Regions from separate parts of the Homo sapiens genome. Here all the other regions are linked to region 2. Evidence: promoter capture Hi-C in 16 types of primary human blood cells and fetal thymus (Javierre and others, 2016). All regions are on one chromosome and are shown on one strand. The core of a region is centred on a gene start or on the middle of the fragment in contact, and the rest is flanking DNA. Distances in the headings are between cores, read along the strand shown. Region 1 overlaps TMEM154 (transmembrane protein 154). Region 2 holds the start of RPS3A (ribosomal protein S3A). Region 3 overlaps TIGD4 (tigger transposable element derived 4). Region 4 has its middle 25 kb from the start of MIR4453. Region 5 overlaps ARFIP1 (ARF interacting protein 1). Region 6 has its middle 5.6 kb from the start of TMEM154. Region 7 overlaps ARFIP1 (ARF interacting protein 1).

Region 1 (3,481 bases), core at 927-3,426, 1.5 Mb after region 2:
AAGCTTTTAGAGAAAAAAGAAATCTTATTTTTGTCCCAGGGTAGATACTCAAAGTAAACATTTTATGGATTATCAATTTAATTAAAACATTAGGATAGGAAAAAGAAATGTACATAAAATTATGACAGAAAAGAAAGATTATCCAAATTATAAGGTGTTACTATCCTTTTAAAAACTTCAGACTGGGCGAGGCACAGTGGCTCACTCCTGTCATCCCAACACTTTGGGAGGCCAAGGCAGCAGAAGGATTGCTTGAGCCCAAAAGTTTGAAAGCAGCCTGAGCAACATAAGGAGACCCTGTCACCACAATAAAGTAAAATAAAATTAGCCAGGCATGGTGGACAAACCTGTGGTCCCAACTACTCTGGAGGCTAAGTTGGGAGAATCATTTAGGCCCAGGAGGTTGAGGCTACAGTGAGCTGGGATCACACCACTGCACTCCAGCCTAGACAACAGAATGAGAGTCTGTCTCTACACAAAACAACAAAACACCAAAAAACTCCAGAGTGATAAGTGGACTATTCTGAAATCACCAACATTAATGGGCCTATGCCAGTAATTAAGGAGAACTGAAAGTCTCATAGTAGATCAAACAAATTCCTGATTTCCCAGGATTGGTAGGTCCAGAAAGAAACCACCAGGGAACACAGGGACAAAAATAATGCTTCGCCCACCAGTATTGATGTGTCTGGGTCTTAGGATACAGGCTTAGGATAAAGGAAGTGAATTTTTTTTTAATCCAGTGAGCTGGGTCTTAGTATAAAGGCAGTGAGTTTCTGTACATCAGTCCTAACTTCCTAATAATTATACTAGCAATAACCAGTGCTTATTGAGAACTTACTTTGTTCTGGGCTTTGTTCTAAATCCAATGTACTTTTCTTAGATTTTTTAATGAATAAAAAATTAACTTTGCAATATCATAATAACCTTTGAAGTAATCAGAAAGTGCCTAGTGGTACAAAGATCTGGGACTTGCCATTCTTGGTTCTCGAATGCTGGTGCTGGCATTACGAGAGGGCATAAAGTGAAGGCCTGACAGCCATCCTGTGAATGCCACACAGCTCTGGACCCACAGTGGAATGTAGACCTTCCCTTTTAAAACAATCATTTAACTATGTGAAGGCTCTAGCTCATTTTCTCATTATTTCAAAAATCTGACTTTTTTTTTTTGAAACAGAATTTCTTTCACTCTTGTTGCCTAGGCTGGAGTGCAATGGTGTGATCAGTGCTCACTGCAATCTCCGCCTTCCCAGTTGAAGGGATTCTCCTGCTTCAGCCTCCCAAGTAGCTGGGATTACAGGTGCCCGCCACAACGCCTGGCTAATTTTTGTATTTTTAGTAGAGATGGAGTTTTACCATGTGGGCCAGGCTGGTCTCGAACTCCTGGCCTCAGGTGATCTGCCTGCCTCAGCCTCCCAAAGTGTTGGAATTACAGGCATGAGCCACATTGCCTGGCCAAAAATCTGATTTTTAAGAAGATTTCACTGCCATACAATTCTGTAATGTTAAGCTTCTTCCATGTTGCCAACAATTTCAAAGAGCAAAAGGCAGGAATGTAAAAACCACTGAGGGTAGTTTTTAGCATCATTGAGGTTGCTCATCAGTGATAGAGTAATAAGATACTTAAGATATTTATGGAGTTTTAGTAGTGATCTGAGCCCTATACCAGACATATATAGTTACATATTTCCAGGTAAGATCAAAACATGGGGAAAATATTCCTTTGTAATATTCCCCCTGGCATTGTTGTTTTCTTCCACCTGCTTGTTAATCAATCTCTCTCTCTCTCTCTCTCCCCCTCTCTCTCCCTCTCTCTCTCCCCATTTCTTTTAGAGACAGGGTCTTGCTCTTGCTTGTTGCCCAGGCTGGAATGCAGTGGTACAATCATAGCTCACTACAATCCTGAAATCCTGGGCTCAAGCAATCCTCTCACATCAGCCTCTCAAGTAACTAGGACTACAGGCAAGCGCCACCAAGCATGACCTGGAATCTCTTTTAAATAGGATAGAATCCTTCCTGAACTGGCAATAATCTTAACATGAAAATGCCTAGGGTGGTGATATTGACCTAAATCTACAATAGGTATAGACTTTGGCATCAGAGCTGAGGTTTGTCTGAGTAAGACTGTGGTGGTGTGATGTGAGGAGAGATTTGGGATGGTGAATTCTTAAGTGAGGTTTAGGGGGGAGACGCAGGAAAAGGGTCCGAAGATAAACATCTGACTGCCCCCAACCATTGCCTAATAATCAGTATTCCCTCGCGATGCTCAGGCTTCAGGGGTTGCCTGGTGACAAGTGACTGACTGGCACCAGACTTCTGGTGAACATGGAGGGAGAGGATTTATCCTGCCTGAAGGTTTATTCCATTTATTCCAACAGAAGTGTGATATCTCAGGCATAGGCTCAAGTTTTCTTCTCTCCGGGTGTCCATGAGTGTTTGCTGCCAACAACTCAGTACCTCCAAGGTCACAGCAGAGCTCTGCAGAGCCAGTCCCCAACCTTCTGAACCATCCAACCTTTTTCCTTAGAACACTTCCCATGTCCTGACAAAACAGTTCTCTAATCAAAACACCCCAAATGTGGTCATTTCTATCCTCACAAAAGATAATATAATTTAAAATGAGATTGTGGAATGCTAAACTATACACCCAAACCCCAAAGCACTAAAATTTTTCTATCAACCAGAGCCACCTAGTGGTAAAATGGAACATTTTTTAAAAATTCCCATTTATTTTCTCACTCTAGTTTACAGTTACCCACTTTAAGACTGTCGCCTCCATCTGTTTTCCTTACCAAACATCTATTTATCCAAGGTAAACAAACCTACAGTTTGTCATAATTGGAAAGCTTTATGACTAAAACAGAAGCTGAAGCAACAGTGTCTCTTTAGAAGGGCAAGAAAATGTCAATACTCATTTATTTCTAAAGATAAAGAGTCCTAGGATATTTACTTTGTGGCCTTCTATTTTCTGTAACACACTTCCTCTTCTCCACACTATGCACATATCCAGCCGCGTAAATGATCTCATACGAATTATAGGCACGGAGGAGGTAAGCAAAAAGTGTTCCACCCTGGTTCCCAATCCCCCCGCCCCCCGCCATATACATGTAATCTGTGGTAGAAATGAGAAGTACCTTGGGTTGTGATTTGATTCCTTCTCTTCCTTCAAGGTAGGTAAACATTCAAAGTCGGCTAGGACAGAATAAAAGCAAACTCATTGTTAGTTACTGAAATCGTATTTTCTATCCACAAACCTGATACAGTTAAATACCATAGTTCTCTGATCTGCGTGGTTACTTGCACAAAAATGGCCTCACCAAGGAGTGATAGTGATGAAAAGATTAATGATGTCAAGGCTCTTGAAATGGAAAAAGCACTAATAACACAGATGCAAAACTTCAACATGCCTCTGACACTGGAAAGGACACAATTCATCACTGCTTGGTTATTCTGTCCCTGCAGCACCCCAGTGCTCCAAAAG
Region 2 (3,501 bases), core at 171-2,670:
GGGGGGTGGGTGTAGTGGGAGGTAGGGGATGGAGGCTAGCAGGACTGGAAGGGATTGTAAGTTTAAAAGCTTGCAGGGGGCCTTGTAAGTAAGGGTTGGTTTTGGCTTGGTCACAGGGTTTTCTGCCAGAGGGGAAGTTAGAGAAGGGAACTCAACACACCACTGGCTGAGTACCAAGCCTGTATGGGCCAGATGCTTTCCGAGGGCTGCACACTTGAGCTAGCCAGCCACACCTTGCCAGGATGTGCTCTGTTAACCCCTACAGTTAAAAAAAATGGGGGAGGCGGGTTTGGATTAGTTGCAAAAATGGAAACATTTGGAGATCTCACTTTTTTTTTTTTGACGCAGTTTCACTCTTGTTGGCCAGGCAATGGCGCGATCTCGGCTCACTGCAACTTCCGCCTCCTGAGCTCAGATTCTCGTGCCTCAGCCTCCCGAGTAGCTGGGATTACAGGCACCCACCCGGCTAATTTTTTGTATGTTTAGTAGAGACGGGGTTTCACTATGTTGGCCAGGCTGGTCTCGAACTCCTGAGCTCAGGCGATCCGCCCGCCTCAGCCTCCCAAAGTGCTGGGATTACAGGCGTGAGCCACCGCGCCCGGCCAACGCCCTGCTAATTTTATCATTTTCTTGTAAAGACGGGGTCTGGCTGTGTGGCCCAGGCTAGTCTCCAATTCCTGGCTTCAGTTGATTCCCCTGCCTCAGCCTCTTAAAGTGCTGGGATTACAGGTGTGAGCCAACGAGTTCGGTCTCACTCTATTTTAAAAAAACCTTTTAATCAATATATAACAGACATATAGAAAAGGACACAAATAAGCGTAGAGCTTAGTGAATGTTCACAAAGCAACAACACCTGAGATGAACCAGCATCCACATCAACAAGCAGAACGTCGCTAGCATCTCTGGAGTGATGCTCATTTAGCCCTATGAAACCTCATGAAGCCGACCGTTTTATCACCCCCATATTACGCATGAGGAAACAAGCGTGGAGAGGTCGGTCTCAAGCAAAGCCCTGTTGAAACCGGCATTTGAATCAGATCCGCTGACTGACTCCAAAGCCAATGCTCTCAAAAAGCAGGTTTGGGGGTTAGACGGTGAGTTCAGCTTTGAACGATGTTGAGTGGGCGTCTCGTTTTACAGAAACTTACTTCCCGACGTCACAGCCACAGAAACCACAGGTAACCAGACGCCTGCACGTCAGGCCACCGACGCCTTGGTCTACACAGCGCAGCCTCCAGTGAGCCCGCGGCATGCCGCGCGGCCTCCCCACACACGATGGCGATGTCGCAACCACAGTAGAAAGAGTGGCGCTCTCTACTGTCCCGGAATTCTTGAGGCCGGAAGAATAACAGGGCAAAGGTCACGTAGACGGCGCGCCCCGCCCCCGTACGCCTAAGTTCTCGCGCGACTCCCACTTCCGCCCTTTTGGCTCTCTGACCAGCACCATGGCGGTTGGCAAGAACAAGCGCCTTACGAAAGGCGGCAAAAAGGGAGCCAAGAAGAAAGTGTAAGTCGCGACTGTCGTGGCGTCTTGCTTTTTGGGGGTCTGCTGGAATCGGCGGGCTGGTCCTAGATCGCGGCGTAGGCCGGATGGCGAGGATTCCAGTCGGATTGTGCGGGCCGTGGCGGGTTGGTGCACCCAGGAACGCGGCCTGGAGGGTCGGTGTTGAGTAGCGGCAGGTCGGCTGCCTTTCCCAGGCCTTCTGGTCCTTGCGCGCGTCGCGTTTGAGCCGGCTTGCCGGCGCGACTCGGCTGGAATGTTAGTTTTGTGGGCTCACGAGCTGCCTCAATTCTGCGAGTGTTTGATGGCACTGCGACAGCAGGAGTTGAGGAAAGCACCCTTCTATCCATTCAGGACCCGTCAATCTCGCCTTTGCTTGGTCCCGCTGGAATCTGCGAGCTCCTGCTAAGCTTTGGGGCCATGCAGTCTCTTAGTTACCAGTACATGCCATTACGTGCCAGCAAAGTTAATGAGATTGCATGTTACTCGTGCCTGTGTAGTGGAAGGACCGATGCATGTTATTCTAAGTGCCTGTGTAGTGGATGGACCGATGAGGGTGGGAAGTGGACATAACCTTTCAAAGTCTGATGCATGCAGTGAAACGTACAGTGGGAAGAGCTAGATTTATGTTTGTTCCCCTCACCTCACTGTGAGATATACTTTGGTATCAAATTGCCGGTTAGCTTTTTAAAATATTAATGGGAAATACCATTAACAGTGAAAAATACAGTAAGAATTGATCTGCAATGGAACTTAAGCATCTTCTTAAAATCCAGGGTTGATCCATTTTCTAAGAAAGATTGGTATGATGTGAAAGCACCTGCTATGTTCAATATAAGAAATATTGGAAAGACGCTCGTCACCAGGACCCAAGGAACCAGTAAGTAGCTTATTCTTGGTTTGTATTTTCCTTAAGTTGGCGCTTGTATATTGTAGCAGGCATCTTGGTCTGTTGTTGGTCCTGTGGTGGGAGACTTTAAGGAAATGTCAGCTCTTGGTTGCAGCCTTGGCACCTGTGGTGATCATTTTTAGTACAGCACTTGGAGAGAAGCAAGATGGTGCTTTTTGAATTAAGAAAATGTGCCATGGGTAGTTCTGAGCTTCAAATAAGTACTGTTGATAAGTCACTGGTGTCTGGATAGATTTGATAACAAAGGTTAAGGTCTTTATAATTTACCATTAACTTAATTTCTACCCTCAGTTTACAGGCTTGACTTTGCTTATATGGTTCCTAAATGTTAAGATACTTGTTTTTTTCTTTTGTAGAAATTGCATCTGATGGTCTCAAGGGTCGTGTGTTTGAAGTGAGTCTTGCTGATTTGCAGAATGATGAAGTTGCATTTAGAAAATTCAAGCTGATTACTGAAGATGTTCAGGGTAAAAACTGCCTGACTAACTTCCATGGCATGGATCTTACCCGTGACAAAATGTGTTCCATGGTCAAAAAATGGCAGGTGAGACCCAAAGTTCCTTAGAGTGGTTGTGCTATGGGTGTTTGACCAAGGATAGCATGGTTTGATGACTGGAAGGAGCAAGTTCATTTTATTTATTTATTGAGACCAGTGAAATGTCCACAAAGTTCATTTTAAATTTTTGTTTTCTTGCCGTTGTTGAGTGCTAACTCTGGGGTTGCCACACCATATTTTACTTACTATTTAAATCTAAGATTTAATAGTGGTGTATCATCAAAGTCAGATTTTCTTGCTGCATAGATTAGTGGTTTTTTGAGGAACGTTTAGGTGCAGGTGGGCGGTTTTGCCTGTCTTAAGGATGTTTTTTGACCTCAGAATTGAGTGAATGTTGATTAACTGTGGCAGTAGAGCATAATTGTGGCAGAGCCTCTGGAGTGAGGTTAAAATCTGGGCTCCATTTGCCTATTGTGTTCTCGTTGGAAAGTAACTTGTTTTCTAAGCCTCGGTTTCTTTATTTGTAAAGTGCAGATAAGAGTGTCATTTTATTGAATTGTGAGGATGAAATGAAAATATTTCAGATGTGTCTGG
Region 3 (3,380 bases), core at 461-2,960, 1.7 Mb after region 2:
TTCTCTGCATTTGTTATGTCACTTTCTCCCTTTTGAGATTTGAATCCTGCCTCTTCATAGCTTTTAACAATAGTCTCTGGGGTTACAGCCCTCCAGCAAAGATGCAATGTATCAACTGCATCTAGTAGTGAAAATGTAAATTCTTTGCTACCTTCAACAGAGCTTAAAAATTTCTTGATAAGACAGTGTCGATATTTGATTTTAAGGCTTTTAATAACACCTTGTTTCATAGCTATACATTTGGAAGATAAACATGATGGAAAGAATGCTAACTCAATGGATTTTAGGTTCTTTACCTCTGGATGTGCTGGAAAAGACTCAACAAAAATCACCACTCTTCGTTGCTGGGCTTGAAATTCCTCATCAAGCTTTCGCATCCATTGTTCAAATACATCGGAGGTCATCCATGCCATTCTGTTAGCTTCATAACACACAGGCAATGATTTTAAACCTTTGAAACAATGTGGAGTTCTCTTTTTTCCAATGACAAGCAAAGGAAGTTTCTCTGAGCCATCCATGTTTGTGCCAACCACCAGAGTTATTCTGTCTTTGCATAACTTTCCAACTGAACATGTTTCGCCTTTAAATGCAAATGTATTGGTAGGTAACATTCGATAAAGCAGCCCAGTCTCTTTTATATTAAAAACATTTTTAGGATGATAATCATTTAAATAATAAGGAAGTACATTTTGGTACCAGACAGTCGAAGGGTCTACTGGTACACCTGTAGCTTCTACAGGTTGAGCTCTGAATACTAAACCATACCTGGATTTAAAACGATCCAGCCAACCATTACTGCACTTAAAATCATTATGGCCCAGTTTCTGGGCAAAATCATTAGCTTTTAGACGTAACATCGGACCATTAACTGGTACATTTAGACACTGAGCAATTCGATACCATCTCATTAATGCCTCTTCCAGATCTGTGTAAAAAGCAGTTCTCAGTCTTTTTCTCTTTGGATCAAATCTTAGAGATTCAAAGGCTTCTAGAACTTTGTCTTTATTCTTCATAATAGAAGACAATGAATTTTTCTTTATTCCATATTCAGCAGCAATCTCTGCTTTTTTCTTGCCACTTTCCACTGCATTTATGATGTCGATCTTTTCCTCAATGGATAGGCTTTTCTTTTTCTTCACTGTTACAGGCAGAGTTGAGGCATCCACAGAAGCTTCTGCCATCTCAGCCAGTGCTTATGTAGAGATTACTCTTCTTAACTTCCTGGTGACTGTTTCTTTAATTAAATTTGTTTTCCAGTATAATATAGATTGCTGCTTTCTATCCTACTTTATACACTAAAAGTTGGTGTCTAATAGTCTTATTTTGTAGGAACTTGATGACAAAATATGCTTTTTCAAAGATCTGAAGAAAAATATTATATGCAACTAGAATATTTTAGAAGAGAAACTTCCTTCCTAGTACCTTGTATAGCTCAGTTTATAGCTTATTCAGAGTTGTAGAAGTCAAGCTAAAATAGAAATCTCATTATATAAAACCTGTCCAGTCCTGCTGATGTATTTTTGGAACTTCAATCCTTTAAGATGATCCATTTTATCCATGCACACATTCAACCTCCTATTAATTCTCCATAGAAGGCCTCAGAGATAAGAAAAAACGTTCAAAAGTTTTCATGCAACTATTACCCATTAATTTTCAAGTTTGTTCATGGTAAAGAAGAAAATGGTAGAATCCTTCTAGAACTTGCCAGTATATCTTCTTCTGTTGTTTGAAAAATTAAAAAAAAAGCAATTTTAGCGATATGTCAATTGAATATTAAAATAATGCTTATACCCAATTATTATGTTCTTAATAATGAAAATAATAGAAGCATGGTTCTGAAAATACAATAAAGTTTCCAAGAGAAATGCTTACCTCCCAAAGGCCTCTCTGTAAAAGCTCTCTAGTTCTGTTCTACAGATTTGAATTCTCACTTGCCTTTGAATGCTTTATAATATATAGTTCTGAAATAAATCAGATAAATTTAATCTATTTTGAAAATGTGGGCTTACCAAAATTAAAGAACTAAAAATGATGCTGGATAGATGCTTGGTGGCTATTTTTCACATGAGGTCACAGACTGCACCCTCTAACTTCTCCAAAAGAAAACATACTCAGACAGTAGTCACAAGGTTCAACTTTTAATAGCATATGGGAGACAGTGTCTCTTTTATAGGAGTCTGACAGAAAATGCTTCCCTAAAAAATCAAGTGACAATTCTATTTAAAAAAAATCTAAATCCCATTCGACCTAAAAGCTTAAAAACCCAATACCTTTTTATTTTTATGATTTAAAATTTTTCTCTCTTTTTTCTTTTTTAACCCTTATCCTGTTAGTAGGCTAAGAACTCAGTAACTTTTGTATTAATTTGACACATTAGCTGAAGGTACAGAGGCCAGAAATACTGGACAAAAGGCATAGAAACAAACAATTAGGAGAGTATAATGCAGAAAAAGATGTAGACTAAGAACAGGAAGGATAGTGACCACAAGTCTTAACGTCTCAGGTCTTCTACTTTCTATCTGTAAAAAAAAAAAGGTGCCAGGCAGTTCTGAATTGAGAAGTGACTCTGCTATTTAGTACTCATGTGATCCCAGGTAATTTACTTAACCATATGAAGCTTCAGCTTCCTTATCTGTAAAATGGGAGTAACTACAGCACCTATCTCATTATTGTGCATTCAAAAAGATTCAATGAAAGAGTGTAAAGCACGTAGCACAGTATTTAGTACTTTAAGAAAGTGCTCAACAAATAGGTGGTGATGATCTCATCATCATTATCTCTCTCATGTCTTTTGGCTGTGTGAATCTACAATTTGGAAAACTATAAAATCCTACTTGCAAACAGAAGCAAGAATCCCACCTTAAATCTATACTCAAAGTAGGGCTTTTCTTTTTTTTTTTTCTTTTGAGATGGAGTCTCACTCTGTCGCCCAGGCTGGTATACAGTGGCACAATCTCGGCTCACTGCAACCTCTGCCTCCCAGGTTCATGCGATTCTCCTGCCTCAGCCTCCCAAGTAGCTGGGACTACAGGCACACGCCACCACGTCCAGCTAATTTTTGTATTTTTAGTAGAGACGGGATTTCAACATGTTGGCCAGGATGGTCTCAATCTCTTGACCTCATGATCTGCCCGCCTCGGCTGCCTCCAGCCTCCCAAAGTGCTAGGATTACAGGCGTGAGCCACTGTGCCCGGCCTAAAGTAGGGCTTTTCTTAAGCCATGAGAACAGTCACATGGCCCCAGATAGGCTCACCTCTACTTTCCCAAGTCAGCACCTCCCTTATCAGAATCTGTGGGGCAGCCAAGATAATAACAAGCTAATTTGATGAGCAGTGTTACTTCTGTGTGAGTGTGGGCACTCCATTCTTCTTGCTGGGCTT
Region 4 (3,734 bases), core at 867-3,366, 1.5 Mb after region 2:
TTCATTTTAAAATGCTCTTTTTTATTACCAATAGTAATCATCCTGAATAACTGAAATCATCACATCCCCTTCTTATCTTTGGTATAGAAATTTTTTTTTGGTCATAAACAGATGCACAATTCTTGATATAAAATTTAATATATTACATATAGCCCCATTTCCAGATTTTCTTATCTTTCAGTTATAGATTTCTTTCTTGCAGCAGGGATGAAAAGAATTGTCTGTTTGTGGGCGTTCACATTCTTTGTGATTTAATAACCATTTTGACAGTCCTCTTTTGTAGGCCTAAGACTTTAAAATAAAATCTAGGAAAAGATTCAATGACAAATAGGGTATCTCAGTATCACCATTGTGTTCCTGTATTAATCAGAGATTTAATTATTTAATTCATCTCTTCGAGCATCATGATATCATCCTATGTAGTCTATTTTCTAATCTGGCTAAAACCGGTTTGGTTCTCATGACTCTGTAATACACGGGTAGTACAGAAAACCTCAGTGCTTAAAGGGGAAACAAAACTAAAATAACTTACTGGTCTGCTGTATATTTTCATGTTCTTAGAACTATTGTTTCTAATATTATATGTACAATTAGACTGCTTTGTTTGGTAATATATTCAATTTTTAACATTATCTAGTCTTATCAGGAGATAAACACAGCAGAATTCAAATGGCTTAAGTACTCTCTGTGTAAAAGGATAAATTCTTGCTCCTTAAATTACGGTAAACTATGCCCCACATTCACTGAAAACTTAAAACTGCCATTAACTATCATGGAGATCCATCAATTTAGTTCCATCTTAAGAGTGAACAATAATGAACAAGGATAAGAAGCATGAAACATGAAATGTTTTTAAATGAAACAAAACTGATTAGAACCTAGGACTAGATTCCTCCATTTGTTAATCCAATGAAACCTACCATATATAAGAGTATCTTGCCTATCTTGGGGGGAAAAACCAGCCAAAGACTTGGAGGATGCCTTATGTATTTTTTCATCAAGATTATTGGTGATTCATAAATTGTCTTTTGAAAGTTTAATTATAATTTTAGATTTTATTGCTGACAATAGGCAGAAATGAATTGATGTATGTTAGTTATTTGCTAGGAAGGAAGATCTAATTATTCTTTAGGTTAAAGAACAAAAACAAAACAACAACACAGCTAGAGACCACCTTTTTGGGGGCAGTTGCCTTTCTCTTCCTTCATCAAGTTTTGTAGTCAAGAATTAGAATAGGGCCAGGTGCCGTGACTCAGTGTCGAATCCCAACGCTTTGGGAGTCTGAGGCAGGAGGGTCACTTGAGGCCAGGAGTTCAAGACCAGCCTGGGCAACATAGCAAGGCCCTGTCTCCACAAAAGAATAAATAAATAAATAAATAAAATTAGCTGGGCATGGTGGCATGCAGCTGTGCTCCCAGCTACTTGGGAGGCTGAGGTGGGAGGATGGTTTGAGCCCAGGAGTTCAAGGCTGCAGGGAGTCATGATTATACCACTATAGTCCAGCCTGGGTGACAGAGCAAGGCACTGTCTCTTAAAAAAAAAAAAAAATTAGAAGAGGATCTGCATTGTAAACTAAATCAGGAGGGCTCATTCCTGTTACATGAAGGAGCTGGTACTGGTTAGTCTGGAAAATGGTAAATCAGTTATGGGATTATGGGTAACATTGATCTCCTCATAGATGATGATGTAAGCAAGTGATTTCCTCAGGGAATGAAGAGAAGAGCTTCAGCATACCGGGAACAGTGCTTGTTGCCTTGGAAAATTCATTGTTGCTGGACACTGAATATTGAACAATTTCAAAGCTTAGATCAAGAACAGTAATCTTGTTTGTCTTGTCTACTCAGCACCCATCACCATGTATGGCACATAGTAGGTGTTTAATAGAGATGACGAAGTGTTTAAAGTCTATAATCATGAAGATATGTGGAGGAAACAACAGCATATAACTGAGTGAAAGAAGCCAGTTTGCAATAGATACATATGATTCTAACTACATACATTCTGGAAAAGGCAAAACTACAGAGATCAATGATTGCCAGGGGCTCACAGGGAGGGAAAGAAGGATAAATCGATGGAGAGCAGGGCAGGGGATTTTTAGGGCAATGAAACAATTCTGTATAATCTGTAATATTAGATACATGTCATTATATATATGTCAAAATCCATAAAATGTACAATACCAAAATTGAACCCTAATGAGGTTCAAATTTGAGTCCTAAACTATGGACTTTAGTTAATAATAATGTATCAATATTGGCTCATCAGTTATAAATAACATATGTACCGCACGAATGCAAGATATTAATAATGAGGGCAGCTGTGGTAGGGGAAGAAGGTATATGGGAACTCCCCGTACTTTCCTGTTCATTTTTCTGTAAACCTAAAACTGTTCTAAAAAGTAAAGTCTATTAATTTTTTTTAAAAAGTCTATGAAGCTTTATTGTGTCCCTGACTTTTTTTATTTTTTTTCTGAGATGTAGTCTCGCTCTGTCGTCCAGGCTGGAGTGCAGTGGTGTGATTTCGGCTCACTGCAAGCTCCGCCTCCTGGGTTCACGCCATTCTCCTGCCTCAGCCTCCCGAGTAGCTGGGACTACAGCCAACTGCCCCCAAAAAGGTGGTCTCTAGTTATGTTGTGTTTTGTTTTTGTTTTTTAACCTAAAGAATAATGAGATCTTCCTTCCTAGCAAATAACCACGCCTGGCTAATTTTTTTTTTGTATTTTTAATAGAGACGGGGTTTCACCATGTTAGCCAGGATGGTCTCGAGCTCCTGACCTCAAGATCTGCCCACCTTGGCCTCCCAAAGTGCTGGGATTACAGGCGTGAGCCACCGCGCCTGGCCTTGTGCCCCTGACTTTCATTCTAGGATGATATAAAAGGAGCTATCAGAAACTGGGTGAACAAATGAATGTAATATCCAAGGTAATATTCATTAGCATCTATTTTGTTTTTTGTTGTGTTTTGTTTTGAGATGGAATCTCGCTCTGTCACCCAGGCTGGAGTGCAGTCTTGTGATCTTGGCTCACTGCAACCTCCGCCTCTTGGGTTCAAGCGATTCTCCTGCCTCAGCCTCCCGAGTAGCTGGGATTACAGGCGCGTGCCACGCCAGCTAATTTTTTGTGTTTTTAGTAGAAACGGGATTTCACCATATTATCCAGGATGGTCTCGATCTCCTGACCTCGTGATCTGCCCGCCTCGGCTTCCCAAAGTGCTGGGATTACAGGCGTGAGCCACCACGCCTGGCCCTCGTTAGCATCTATTTTCTTTTGAGTAAGTAACTATTGAGTGCCAACTACAGGACTGCTAGTCAATGTGTGGTATAGAAAGAAAATAAACTGCTCCTTATCTGAGAACTTCTAATTGTTCTCAGATTTATTTATTTGTTTTCTCAAACAAATAAAAGAGCTGTTTTATTCTCTTGACCACAAGATTCTTCAAGATGGAAAATATTTACTGCCAAAGAAGAAATAAACACTTTAGGGAGTATGACTAGTATGAATTTAAGTAAAAGTGATTGGGTCAAAAACAAAGGCTCAAGATTAAATGTAAGAAGACAGGGAAAGCATCTCAATAAAACTGAAGGTGCATATAAATGAATATCAGAATTAGGATCTCTTAAAACAGTCAGAAAGTTTATGTATGTATGATTTTGTAAGTCATCTGTGACACACTATAATCACCTGGAATTGGACAAAGGATGGAACAAAATCAACCCCTTTGCCTGCTTGCCTTGGG
Region 5 (3,718 bases), core at 1,118-3,617, 1.8 Mb after region 2:
GCTTAGGACCCCCTGAACCCTGCATAAGGGTTCTCAGGTTCCCTGAGTCTTAAGAACCCCCCACCTGTAAGTTTTAAGTGATATCACAGAGTATTCGTTCAGTAGAACTACCTTAGAGATCTCGGAGTCTCACTATGTTATTTTATAGTGGAGAAAAAAGGCCCTTGAAGTTGTTATGGAATTACCCAGTATTAATTAAATAGCTGTACCAAAAGCTTATGTGATTTGACTATAACTGCAGTGAGTGCAAGAGCGCTCTCTTTCATTACCTTATTTCCAGGGTTTGGTAACAGTTTTTGGCACTTACTACCAAAGAGGGCCTTTCAATAAATGGTGAATAAATGAATGTTTATTCACGTAAGAACGAGGACGAGGACTAGAAACCAGATTTTTAGACTTCTCTGAAAAACCAGGGAAGAGATATTGTAATCTTATATTTGATACATCTTGTGTCCTTAATTTCCCTGCATGTGGTATTTGGGTTTGTGAGTGTGAGTCTTTGTTGTTATAGTTTTATTTTTAATGATTTTGTTGAGCTAAGTCGTTTCTTCATTCCCTTGTACTTAGCAGTCTGCAATATCATACACTACGATCTGCAGAAGATTTGGGAAAGAAATACAAGAAATTGTTGGAACACTGTTCCTCCAACTCCTACCCCCACCAGTCACATGTTGTAACTTATTTATCTCCTTTTCCCAAGAGATTGGAATCACTGTTAGGTCAGAGATAGTGTGTATACACAGCACAAGTTTTGGTTCATAGTAGTTGCTCAATAAAAGAATGAATTCTAGTAAATAGACTTAAAAGTTGACATCTTTTCTCCTTCAGCCATCCTACCCTAGGGTTTTCATAGCATGTGATTACAGTTTGTCTCCATTCTATATAGGAATGCAATATAATGTTTCCACGTTACTCACACATAAAAAATGTAGTAGCTCGGTCAATGGCAATAATGATTTGATGGGGGCTTTTTCAGAGAGCCAGTTTTGACCAAATATGTATGTTGATCCCTTTTAGAGGTATGGCAAATGGTTTTCAAGGATTGTTTAACCCATACAAATCTAGATTCATTTTAATACTGTTTGCTTTTCAGCTATAGGCTATACTTTTAATACTATTACTACAAATTAAAATTTTAAGTATATTTTTAATATACACATACATTAAATTAATTCTGGATTGAGAGTCCTGTTGAAAATACAATTCATAATGAAAGGTTGAAGGCTTATCTGTCTTAATTATAATCTGAGAGTGTGCCCTTATTTATAAACAAAAGCTATTAGTAATATGTTTTTTTTTATTTCTTGGAGGAATTTTGTTGAAAATACAATTCATAATGAAAGGTTGAAGGCTTATCTGTCTTAAATTATAATCTGAGAGTGTGTCGTTATTTATAAACAAAAGCTATTAGGAATATGTCGTTTTTAAATTTTTTGAAGGAATTATTTTGAATGTAGATACATATAAATATTTCCACAGTGATAGTATGTGAATGAATTCAGTATTTCTTTGATGCAAGTTGGTACATGATTCAAGCTTTTGAACTACTTAGAATCTAGACTAAGTGGGTGAGGCCAAGAGGGTAGGCAGTGAACCACCAAAAGGTACTTGTAAGTTCTTGTTAAATATTGTTGAATGAATGGGAGAGAGGGAGAAAAGAAGATTGAAATTGTGTGTCTGTGGCAGGCAGGTGTGTGTGTGTATGGTGGTAAATGGAAAAAAATCAATAAAAATGTTAGATTTACTCTCTTGATTAGATGGAATAAGATACAGGAGGATATTGTGATCATAAAGTGAGTTATTAAACTTATTTAAAGTGAGAATCTAGAAGTGTTGCTTCCGAAGTGATGACAAGGTCTAAGAGTGGCAATTTGAGTTTAGGTTGCCTGAGTGGAATATGGGGTATGAAAGATGAAAGGCATTAGAAATGAAGATGTTAATGAAATCTGAGACTAAGGTGTAGATTGGGTTATACTAAGTCTAAAATGTCTTTTATCTGCCCTGACACTTTTTTGGCATGTTGTCCAACTACAGATTCCCAAACCTGATCCAGATTACCAATTTTACGCATTTCTGCAAGTATACGGAGGGAAAATAAAATCACATACCTTTACATATCATTATTACTATCCCCTGTCATTCTGCATCAGCATAGGTAGGCAGGCTCATGGAACAGATTTTAAGTGTTTTACAATTTATATTTTAAAATATAGCAACTTACTACCTACCATAACATTAGTGGACTGTATTTTTAATGATCGGTGAAAACTTTCAGCCTAGACAGCGAATATATCAGCTTGGAAGGAATTGCTAACTGAACATCTATAATCATTTCCTGAAAATGTGCCCACCAACATGCAAAAGGTTAGAAACACCCAGTTTAATGGTGAGAGTTAGGGATAAAGCAGAAGCCCTAGATGTGCCAAAGTCTTCAATAAATATTTGAAATTGACTGGAAAGAAGGTAGATGACAATGTTGAGGTGGGGACGAGGGCAGTGAGGAAGGTGACACACAGGAAACGGGGGGGTTGGGTAGGGGCAGAGTTGCACAAGAATGGAAAGCAGTTCTCTACAACAGTTCCTCAAAATAGACTAAGGATCGCCTGCATCAGAATCACCTGATTTCCTTGTTTTGAAATTCGGATTTCTGGGCTTCACATTCCAACTCAGTGAGAATCACCACACAGCTAAGAGCAATCTGCATTTTTAACAGGATCCTCAGGTGATTCCTACTGAAATTAAGGTTTGAGAACTGGTTGTTTAGAAGTACCAATAGAGAGTTTAGAAAATGCTGACCCTGCCTTCTAACAATAGAATATTGATAAGTAGAATGTTGGAAGATAATCAGTTTTATAAAACTCAAGATAATTGTGGAGAAGCAGAGAGGCCACTTAAGGGGGGTTAATAGTGTTACAGAACTGGGGATGTGGAGGCTGTTGTAATAATAGCTTTGCTTCTGGCAGATACTTTTTATAGACAGCTAACTGTTAAACTAACAAAGGAGATTTTAAATTAACAGAATTCATCAAACATTTAACATAAGTGTTTTAGTTTGTTTCTTTAAAAAATTTATTATGTAGATGCTTTGGAAGGTTTTGTCCCTTTTGAAGCATGAGATGTTACTGAGAAAATTTCTTGCCAAATGAAGTAATAGACACTCTGCTAGATGTCAAGAATACAAGTGGTGAACAAGATAGATAAGCTTCCTGATCTTAGCATATGGTCTTCGGAATGGGAAGAGAGGATATAGACAAATTAATTTTAATACCATGTGAAAAATGTTGTGCTAGGCCAAGTATAGCATGGTCTGAGTACTGGTGGGAGCATGGAAAGATTACCTGAGTGATTACTATATAAGCTGAGGTCTGAAGGATGACCTAGCCAGATAAAGGGTGAAAAATATTCTCATCAGAAGCAACTGTAACAACCCGAAGGAAGTGTGAGACCATAGAACTGGAAATTCATGTTGTTGGAATGGAGAATGTGAGGGCAGGTGTGTGAGAAATGAGGCTAGAGAGATAAGTAGATAGTAGATCCTGCAAAACCTTGAAAACCATATTGAAGAGTTTAGTCTTTACCTAAAAGGCAATGGAGAGCCACTAAATGCTATAAAAATGGGAGTGTCTCAGTTGGGTTCACATTTTAGAAAACTGTCTCTGTCTAGTTTGAAGAATTGATTGCGGGACTGACAGTACTAGAGACATGGGAAACAAGTTCA
Region 6 (3,341 bases), core at 394-2,893, 1.6 Mb after region 2:
CATCCTGGCTGCCAATACTCTTCAGAGAAACTGTTGCAAGGTTTGGATAATCCTAGGGGCTTCCATGACAGGGTCTTCCAGGGCCTAGGTAGATGGCCTGGTCACCACAACATGAAACTGTAAAGGATTGTGATTAGGAGCTAAAGTGGCAGTTGACACGTGGGACACAGTGCAGCGCTCTGGGCTAGAGGGTGCTGGGGCGTATCTAAGAGACAGAGCAGCAGCTCACTGCTGAACATCCACAGTCCTCCTCTAATTGCCCTCTGAGAGCAATGGCATTCTCTGTCTTGCTCTCCAGTCTATCCTCAGCATTTAGGACAGAGAACAGAGAAGTGAGTAAATGGGGGGAAAATCCCTTTACAGCAGTATTTTTTTAAGTGCACTGGAGGGGGCCACCTATGTTAGAATTATTCAGGGGAGCTTGTTAAAATTCAGAGTCCTGGACCCTATGCCAGAACTATTGAGTCAGAATCCCTAGAGCTGAGGTCCATAACTCTGTATTTGTAATGTTTGAGGGGATTTTTATGCATGATAGATAAAACTCGAGAATCATGTGTTAGTTAGTTCCTGGAAATTATTGCTAGTTCCTAGAAAGGTCCCTTTTCTCCAAAGGTAAGAAATAAAAAGCACGTTGTATTTTCCTGTTTTGCCTTGACTGCCAGGAGGCCTGGAACTAAAAGTTGAAGCTTGGTTGTGTAACTTTTATTAGCCCAGGTGTCTTTACCATTTCTAGGAATATTTCTTTTCCTGGCTAACTGTAACTCATCTGTCTAGCCCTAATTTAGAAGACATCTCCACCAGGGAGCTATCTTAGAAGCCTTCCTCCTCCCCCTAACCCAAGCTGAACAAAATGCTCATCCTTTACTGCCACCCACATAACACCCATCAGAATACAACCAGAAGACCTGGCTGTGTCTCTGTCTCCCCGCCTTGATTACCCTCGTCTCACTCATCTGTGGTCTCCTGCATCTGTTAAAAGGAACTAGACTTCTTCTTCTATTGCTGTTTTGTTTTTGATCAAATCATATCTTAAGGCCTTTTCCACCCAAGTCTCTCCAAATATTTTGCAAGTAGGACATACCTCATTAATAAATATATAGTATTTATACCAAAGTCCACTCCAGAATGATACATGCAGATTGATGGCCTCAATGATTCTTCTTTTGCTTTTCTGTTGAATTTGACTTTCCCGATTCACAGTTGATAGTGCCCTTGCGAACTAAATCTTCAACACCAATGGAACTAGAAAAAACAAAGGAACAAAAGATTTGGAGGATGTAGCAAATTATAAAAGAAAGCCTGGGCAATACAGTGAGATCCCGTCTCTACAAAAAATAAAAAAATTAGCCGTGCATGGTGGCACCTACCTGTAGTCCCAGCTACTCAAGAGGCTGAGGCAGGAGGATCACTGGAGCCTGGGAGTTCAAGGCTGCTGTGAGCTATAATTGCGTCATTGCACTCCAGCCTGGGCAACTGAGGGAGCCCCTATCTCAAAAAATAATAAAATAAAATAAAATAAAATAATTAGGAAAGATGCTAGGGTATATCCAGTGCCAGGGTATATATGTGGGTAGTGCCAGAAATAAGCAAAATTTGAGAGGATATTGTATCAGGTGAGAGAAGGTAACAGGTGACTAGTTTTCAATTTAAATAACTTATTTTTCATATTACAGAGACAATACATGTTTGTTGTGGAAAAACTAAAAATACATAAAAAGCAGAATCAAAATTATTCTGTTTTTAAGTTCTTCCAGATCTTTTTCTATACATATTAACTAGCAGTGTTATTCCACTTTGTTTCCTGTACTAGCAGTTGGTATGACAATCCTGCTAACTGGCCGGAGGTATAGAATTCCCAGGTAACAAATTCAGATATGGGAAAATGGTAACTTGCTCTAGTTTTCTATTACAGCATCAACTTTGAATTCCAATTCTTCTGCTAGTGGTAAACCAAATGCAGTCACTTACTAATATGATCAGTTTAGTGATTTCCCAGGTATTTGGGAGTAACTTCAGTTATTTCTGGGTCCCTCCCTTGCTCCACCCTTTACCCCCACTTCCGTTTTTTTCTAGAATTGCCTCCAGAATGCCAAAGAGTTGATAGGGAAAGTTGTCTCTAAAATACAACATTGGTTCTTCAGTCCTTAGAGGACCAAGAGCTAAGAATTAACTCCTTATGTTTATATTTTAGAATGGCCTCCTTTTTGTAGATCAAATGGTCTAATTTCCTAGTTTGGATGGGTTCAGGTAGGTGTATAAACAGAGAGTGTCCAGGACTCCCAAATGCATATTATGTTTATAGAATTTCATTTACTATCCTGCCACTTATATTCATGATAATTTCAGTAACAATGCAATGCACTCTCTCCAGGGAAGGATGGATGTGATGAGACATGGTGGGTCCGCTGGATTGAGCACCAGAAGCCCAAGGTCCCAGTCTTAGTTCTTTCACTAATGAGATTCTCTTGCCTCCATTTGCCTTATATGTAAAACAGTAGGGCTGAGTAGATGATCTCTAAGACCCGGCACTCACATTCCATGAGTCTATCAGATTCCTGGTGGGGAGGCGCATACAAAGATTTTCAGAGGCAAAGGTAGACCTAAGCTTCTAAAGACATGGACCTGCTACAAACAACCCAGCCAGGTCCTCAAGCCTTTCCATCATCACTGAGATCCAGAAACGAAGGCCTGTATTTACAGCAACATCACAGTCCTGCCAGGATAAGAATAGAGGGTGGTGCCTTCCAGAACTGCCAAACAGCTGGGCATCACTGAATTGAAATAGACAGCCATAAACAGGGTGGGTTGGAGAAGCATGACAGTTGTGAAATCAGGGCAGGAGGAAGGAAATAAACAGGCAAATACACCGGAAAGAAACATGATGTGGTTGCTTCGCTATCTGTGAAGCAGCAAATGCAAAGCTTATCTGAGGCCAGGAACAAAAGTCGTCATGTCTACAGTGATGATCGTCTCAGCTACGAACACATAACAATAAGCACTGGTGTTGGTAACCATGCTTTAGCACCCAAAGGTCCACAACAACTTTGCTATGCAGCAAGAGGTCACTTGCTTACATATCTCATTGTTACATTCTCTCTTCGTGAAAACTGGCAATCCGTTGGAGTAGACTAGATCATTGTTCCCGGTTCTTCATGCCTTTTCTGAATTACAGTTCTTCATCTATGTCCTTGCAACTTGGTAGTTTATGTCCCTGCCTTTCTGATGCTGGGCCAGGCCATGTATGACTTGCTCTGATCAAAGATATATGGATGGGAGAGACAGTGTGCTGGGTGTGGTCAAAGGTCTCTAAGAGCCATCACAGACTTTGACTTGCCTTCTTG
Region 7 (3,242 bases), core at 504-3,003, 1.7 Mb after region 2:
ACCTTTAGAAAGAGTAATAACCCTTTAGACATTTCTTTGAAGACTCATATTTTATCATAAAAATTCAGTAAATTTCTTTGAAGACTTATGTGTGTTGTTTTATTCAAGTGAATTTTGCTTTAGATTCTATATTTAGTGAAAAATAATGTAAATTCATATTCCAGTATGATGTGCCATGTTTATCTTGTCTGCTATGGTTGTATCTGCCCTCCTGTGTCTTGGGCATACCACTTCAGACCACCTGTTATATGAGTACCTGAATTTGAAAAGCTCCCATTATGATTTATGTTCAACAACACTCCTGCCACAGATCCTTTATCATTAGACTTCTGAATCTTTAAACTCAGTGTTGTCATGGAGACTCTGAAGGGGTTTTAGGGATCCTGGCAAATCTAATACCTCCTGCCCTCTCTTTCCTGGGTGCTAAGAAGACCTTAAATGCATTTAAGAGTGGTAGAGTATAAAACTCTCCCTCACTAAAATTTGGGAAATGATCTTACAAGGTTTTCCTCTGTATAGATTTGGTCTATTCAGTATGTATATATAAAAATGTGATTTTTATAGTAAAATCAAAGCAGCTACAAAGAGTTGGATGGATTTTAAACTTGAGGTGACAAATTCTAATTAATAATTCACTTTGTAGGTCTTTGGTTCTTACACTCTTTTGTTAGCAAATACCTCTGGCTGATTTACAGTAGAACCCCCAGAGATGACTTAATGACATTTTGGCCTCCAATATAACTGGTTTGTGAGGGCTGAACATCAGTGGTGGTTTTGTAATAGTAATTTATCACTCTGTTTTAAAGACAGCTTTCAAAGATAACTGAATTCATACAAAAATTAGAAAATGTATAACCTAAACAGCATAAATTATATAGGTCATTAACTTCTTAAGTCTTGTTACTCCCATGTATTTTGTTATCAAAGTTATAAACAAGAAGACCTTTAAGAAATAAATATGAAGTGGATCAGAGCACTTAAAGAATGAGCCGAGATAGCACCATCGTACTCCAGCCTGGGCAACAAGAGCGAAACTCCGTCTCAAAAAAAAAAAAATGATATATATATATATAATATATATATAATATTTAGTACCTATCTCTGTAATTCTCAGAAATTTGATTTATGTTTCTCTATCTGCCTTGAGTTATTTGGTCTTTTCCAGAGCTGAATGATAATGATGTACAGTGGTCTTCCCATAGTCTTGGGGGAGATGTTCCAAGACCCACATACCTGAAACTGTGGATAGTCCCAAACTCCATATGTACTAAGTTTTCTCCTATACATACATACCTATGATAAAGTTTAATTTGTAAATTAGACACAATAAGAGATTAACAACAGTAATAATAAAATAGAACAATTATAACAACATATTTTCTTAGTCTGTTTGAGTTGCTATAAAGGAATATCTGAGGCGGAGTAATTTATAAAGAAGAGAGGTTTATTTTCAGACCATGGTTGACAGCTGATAAACTGTGGGAAGCTAAAACATGGATAAGGTGGGGGACCTACTATATTTTCCTCATTGGTGCTGTTTTATACAGGCGGTCAAATGATAACTCCTATTTCACAAGAAAGTAAGACAGCAAAAACGAACTGCCTGAACCTTCCATTTTTCCATGTTACTCTTCACTATCTCTACAGGTTCCTTCTTCCTTTATTCTGGCCTCACTGGAAGAGATTTTCTTCTTTTATTTAAAGGGTAATTCCTCTACCTTTGTTCAGAATTTCTTACTGTTTTTAAAAAACTTTTCATCTAATTTTAGACTTGCGGAAGAGCTGCAAAAATAGTAGAGTTCCCTTACATTCCTCACCCCATTTCCCCTAATGCTAACATCTTACATAACCATAATATAATTATTACAAGTAGGAAATGAACATTGATATAATATTATTGATTAAACTATAGCTCTTATTAGAATGAAACCAAATTTTCAACTACTGTCTGTTTTCAGTCCCAGGGTCCTATATAGGAACTCACATTGAATTTAGCAATTTCTCCGTAGTCTCTTTTAAAGTTTCTAACATTTTGCTTGTCTTTTATGACTATGACACTTTTGAAGAATACTAATCAGTTATTTTTAGAATATCTCGCAGTTTAGGTTTGTCTGATGTTTTCTCATGATTGGACTGAGCCTATGCATTTTTGGCAAGAATACCACAAAAATGATGTTGTGTCTTTCTTAGTGCATTGTATTGAGGGGTTTATGATATATGTCTTACTACTTATGATTACTTGATCACTTGGTTGAGTGTGTTGTTTTTACACTGTGAAGTTACTATCTTTCCCTTTTTAGTTGGTAAGTATCTTGTTGGAGCTACGTGGAGACTGTGTAAATCCTGTTTCTCCTCAAACTATTGCTCTCTAATTTTAGCATCTCTCAAGTGGATCTTGTCTGCAGTATTTGTGATATTTGCCTGATGTTGATTGTTTCCCACTTTGCTTCCTATGTTAATTTACTTATCGTCTATTGTGAAGAAGAGTTGTCGCTTTTCCTCCATTTACTTATCAGATTGTTTATATCAATATGGACTCATTAATATTTTACTCCTTGTTTTTGATCTAGTACTATCATTTATTTTGTTGCTGTATTCGTTCCAGCATTGGCTGTTATGGGCTCCTTCAGGTTGGCTCCTGTGTTCTTTCAACAAACCCCCATCTGTTTTTGAAGTTTTCTTTATTTTCTGACACCATGTCAGCATGTGGAAATTACTATGGTTCTGAGAGTCAGAATTATTACAAAATATATCGTGTATCCAGAGAAGTGTCACTCCATCCTTAGCCTTGCTACTCTGTTCCCAAGCCCTTTCACTCTTCTTTCCACCCCTTTCTCACCTGCCCAGGGTAGGTAACCTATCTCTTTAGTTTCTGGTTTATCCTTCCGGTGTTTTTGTTTGTTTGTTTGTTTGTTTGTTTGTTTTTGCTTTTTCAGTAGAAATGTGTATTTTCTTATATCCCCCTTCATTCTTACATGAACATAACATACCATAGGGATTTTTTTGCTTTTTTCAGACTTTGCTTTTTTCAGTTAACACTGTGTCCTGGAAATCACTTCATATTATAGAGATTTTCCTCATTCTTTATTTCCCCCCACAGTTGCATAACTTGGATGTACCATAGTTTATTCAGTCACTTTCCTATGTGCCATATTCCTACCATAGAAAGGTAATTGAATATGGCACATCCAAGTTTCCAATATTTTACAATTACAAAGAATGCTAGAGTGTGTATTTGTCTT

What was found. Contacts are between HindIII fragments. The CHiCAGO score rates a contact against its expected background, and 5 or more counts as called.
Region 1: a contact is called between a fragment that was not itself captured here and the fragment with the promoter of RPS3A in region 2, in 4 of 17 cell types (naive CD4 T cells, monocytes, fetal thymus and 1 more). The highest score is 10.2, in naive CD4 T cells.
Region 3: a fragment that was not itself captured here is called in contact with the fragment with the promoter of RPS3A in region 2 in 1 of 17 cell types (non-activated CD4 T cells); the score reaches 5.6 in non-activated CD4 T cells.
Region 4: a fragment that was not itself captured here is called in contact with the fragment with the promoter of RPS3A in region 2 in 1 of 17 cell types (total CD8 T cells); the score reaches 5.7 in total CD8 T cells.
Region 5: a contact is called between a fragment that was not itself captured here and the fragment with the promoter of RPS3A in region 2, in 1 of 17 cell types (monocytes). The highest score is 5.7, in monocytes.
Region 6: a contact is called between a fragment that was not itself captured here and the fragment with the promoter of RPS3A in region 2, in 1 of 17 cell types (non-activated CD4 T cells). The highest score is 7.0, in non-activated CD4 T cells.
Region 7: a contact is called between a fragment that was not itself captured here and the fragment with the promoter of RPS3A in region 2, in 2 of 17 cell types (total CD4 T cells and naive CD8 T cells). The highest score is 6.3, in total CD4 T cells.

The regions. Positions count from the first base shown.
Region 1 is chr4:152,637,794-152,641,274 of GRCh38, forward strand. TMEM154 (transmembrane protein 154) reads right to left here. Exons shown (of 7, transcript NM_152680.3): 6 at 3,135-3,192. Among named protein-coding and RNA genes, the nearest start is that of TMEM154, 40 kb to the right of the region's middle. The HindIII fragment of the contact is 1,336 bases long and covers 1,509-2,844 here.
Region 2 is chr4:151,098,208-151,101,708 of GRCh38, forward strand. It overlaps RPS3A (ribosomal protein S3A), which reads left to right and starts at 1,421. Exons shown (of 6, transcript NM_001006.5): 1 at 1,421-1,507; 2 at 2,278-2,381; 3 at 2,768-2,955. The coding sequence starts at 1,446. RefSeq lists enhancers at 331-400, 678-1,877, 1,176-1,760, 1,181-1,740, 1,761-2,344. The HindIII fragment of the contact is 1,842 bases long and covers 68-1,909 here.
Region 3 is chr4:152,769,824-152,773,203 of GRCh38, forward strand. It overlaps TIGD4 (tigger transposable element derived 4), which reads right to left. Exons shown (of 2, transcript NM_145720.4): 2 at 1-1,719. The coding sequence starts at 1,181. Among named protein-coding and RNA genes, the nearest start is that of TIGD4, 8.2 kb to the right of the region's middle. The HindIII fragment of the contact is 1,083 bases long and covers 1,170-2,252 here.
Region 4 is chr4:152,559,399-152,563,132 of GRCh38, forward strand. No RefSeq gene overlaps it. Among named protein-coding and RNA genes, the nearest start is that of MIR4453, 25 kb to the left of the region's middle. The HindIII fragment of the contact is 633 bases long and covers 1,801-2,433 here.
Region 5 is chr4:152,847,985-152,851,702 of GRCh38, forward strand. All of the region lies in intron 2 of ARFIP1 (ARF interacting protein 1), which reads left to right. Among named protein-coding and RNA genes, the nearest start is that of ARFIP1, 70 kb to the left of the region's middle. RefSeq lists enhancers at 2,433-2,727, 2,614-3,272. The HindIII fragment of the contact is 1,666 bases long and covers 1,535-3,200 here.
Region 6 is chr4:152,683,904-152,687,244 of GRCh38, forward strand. No RefSeq gene overlaps it. Among named protein-coding and RNA genes, the nearest start is that of TMEM154, 5.6 kb to the left of the region's middle. The HindIII fragment of the contact is 1,919 bases long and covers 685-2,603 here.
Region 7 is chr4:152,792,270-152,795,511 of GRCh38, forward strand. The region is part of intron 1 of ARFIP1 (ARF interacting protein 1); the gene reads left to right. Among named protein-coding and RNA genes, the nearest start is that of ARFIP1, 14 kb to the left of the region's middle. The HindIII fragment of the contact is 5,339 bases long and covers 1-3,242 here.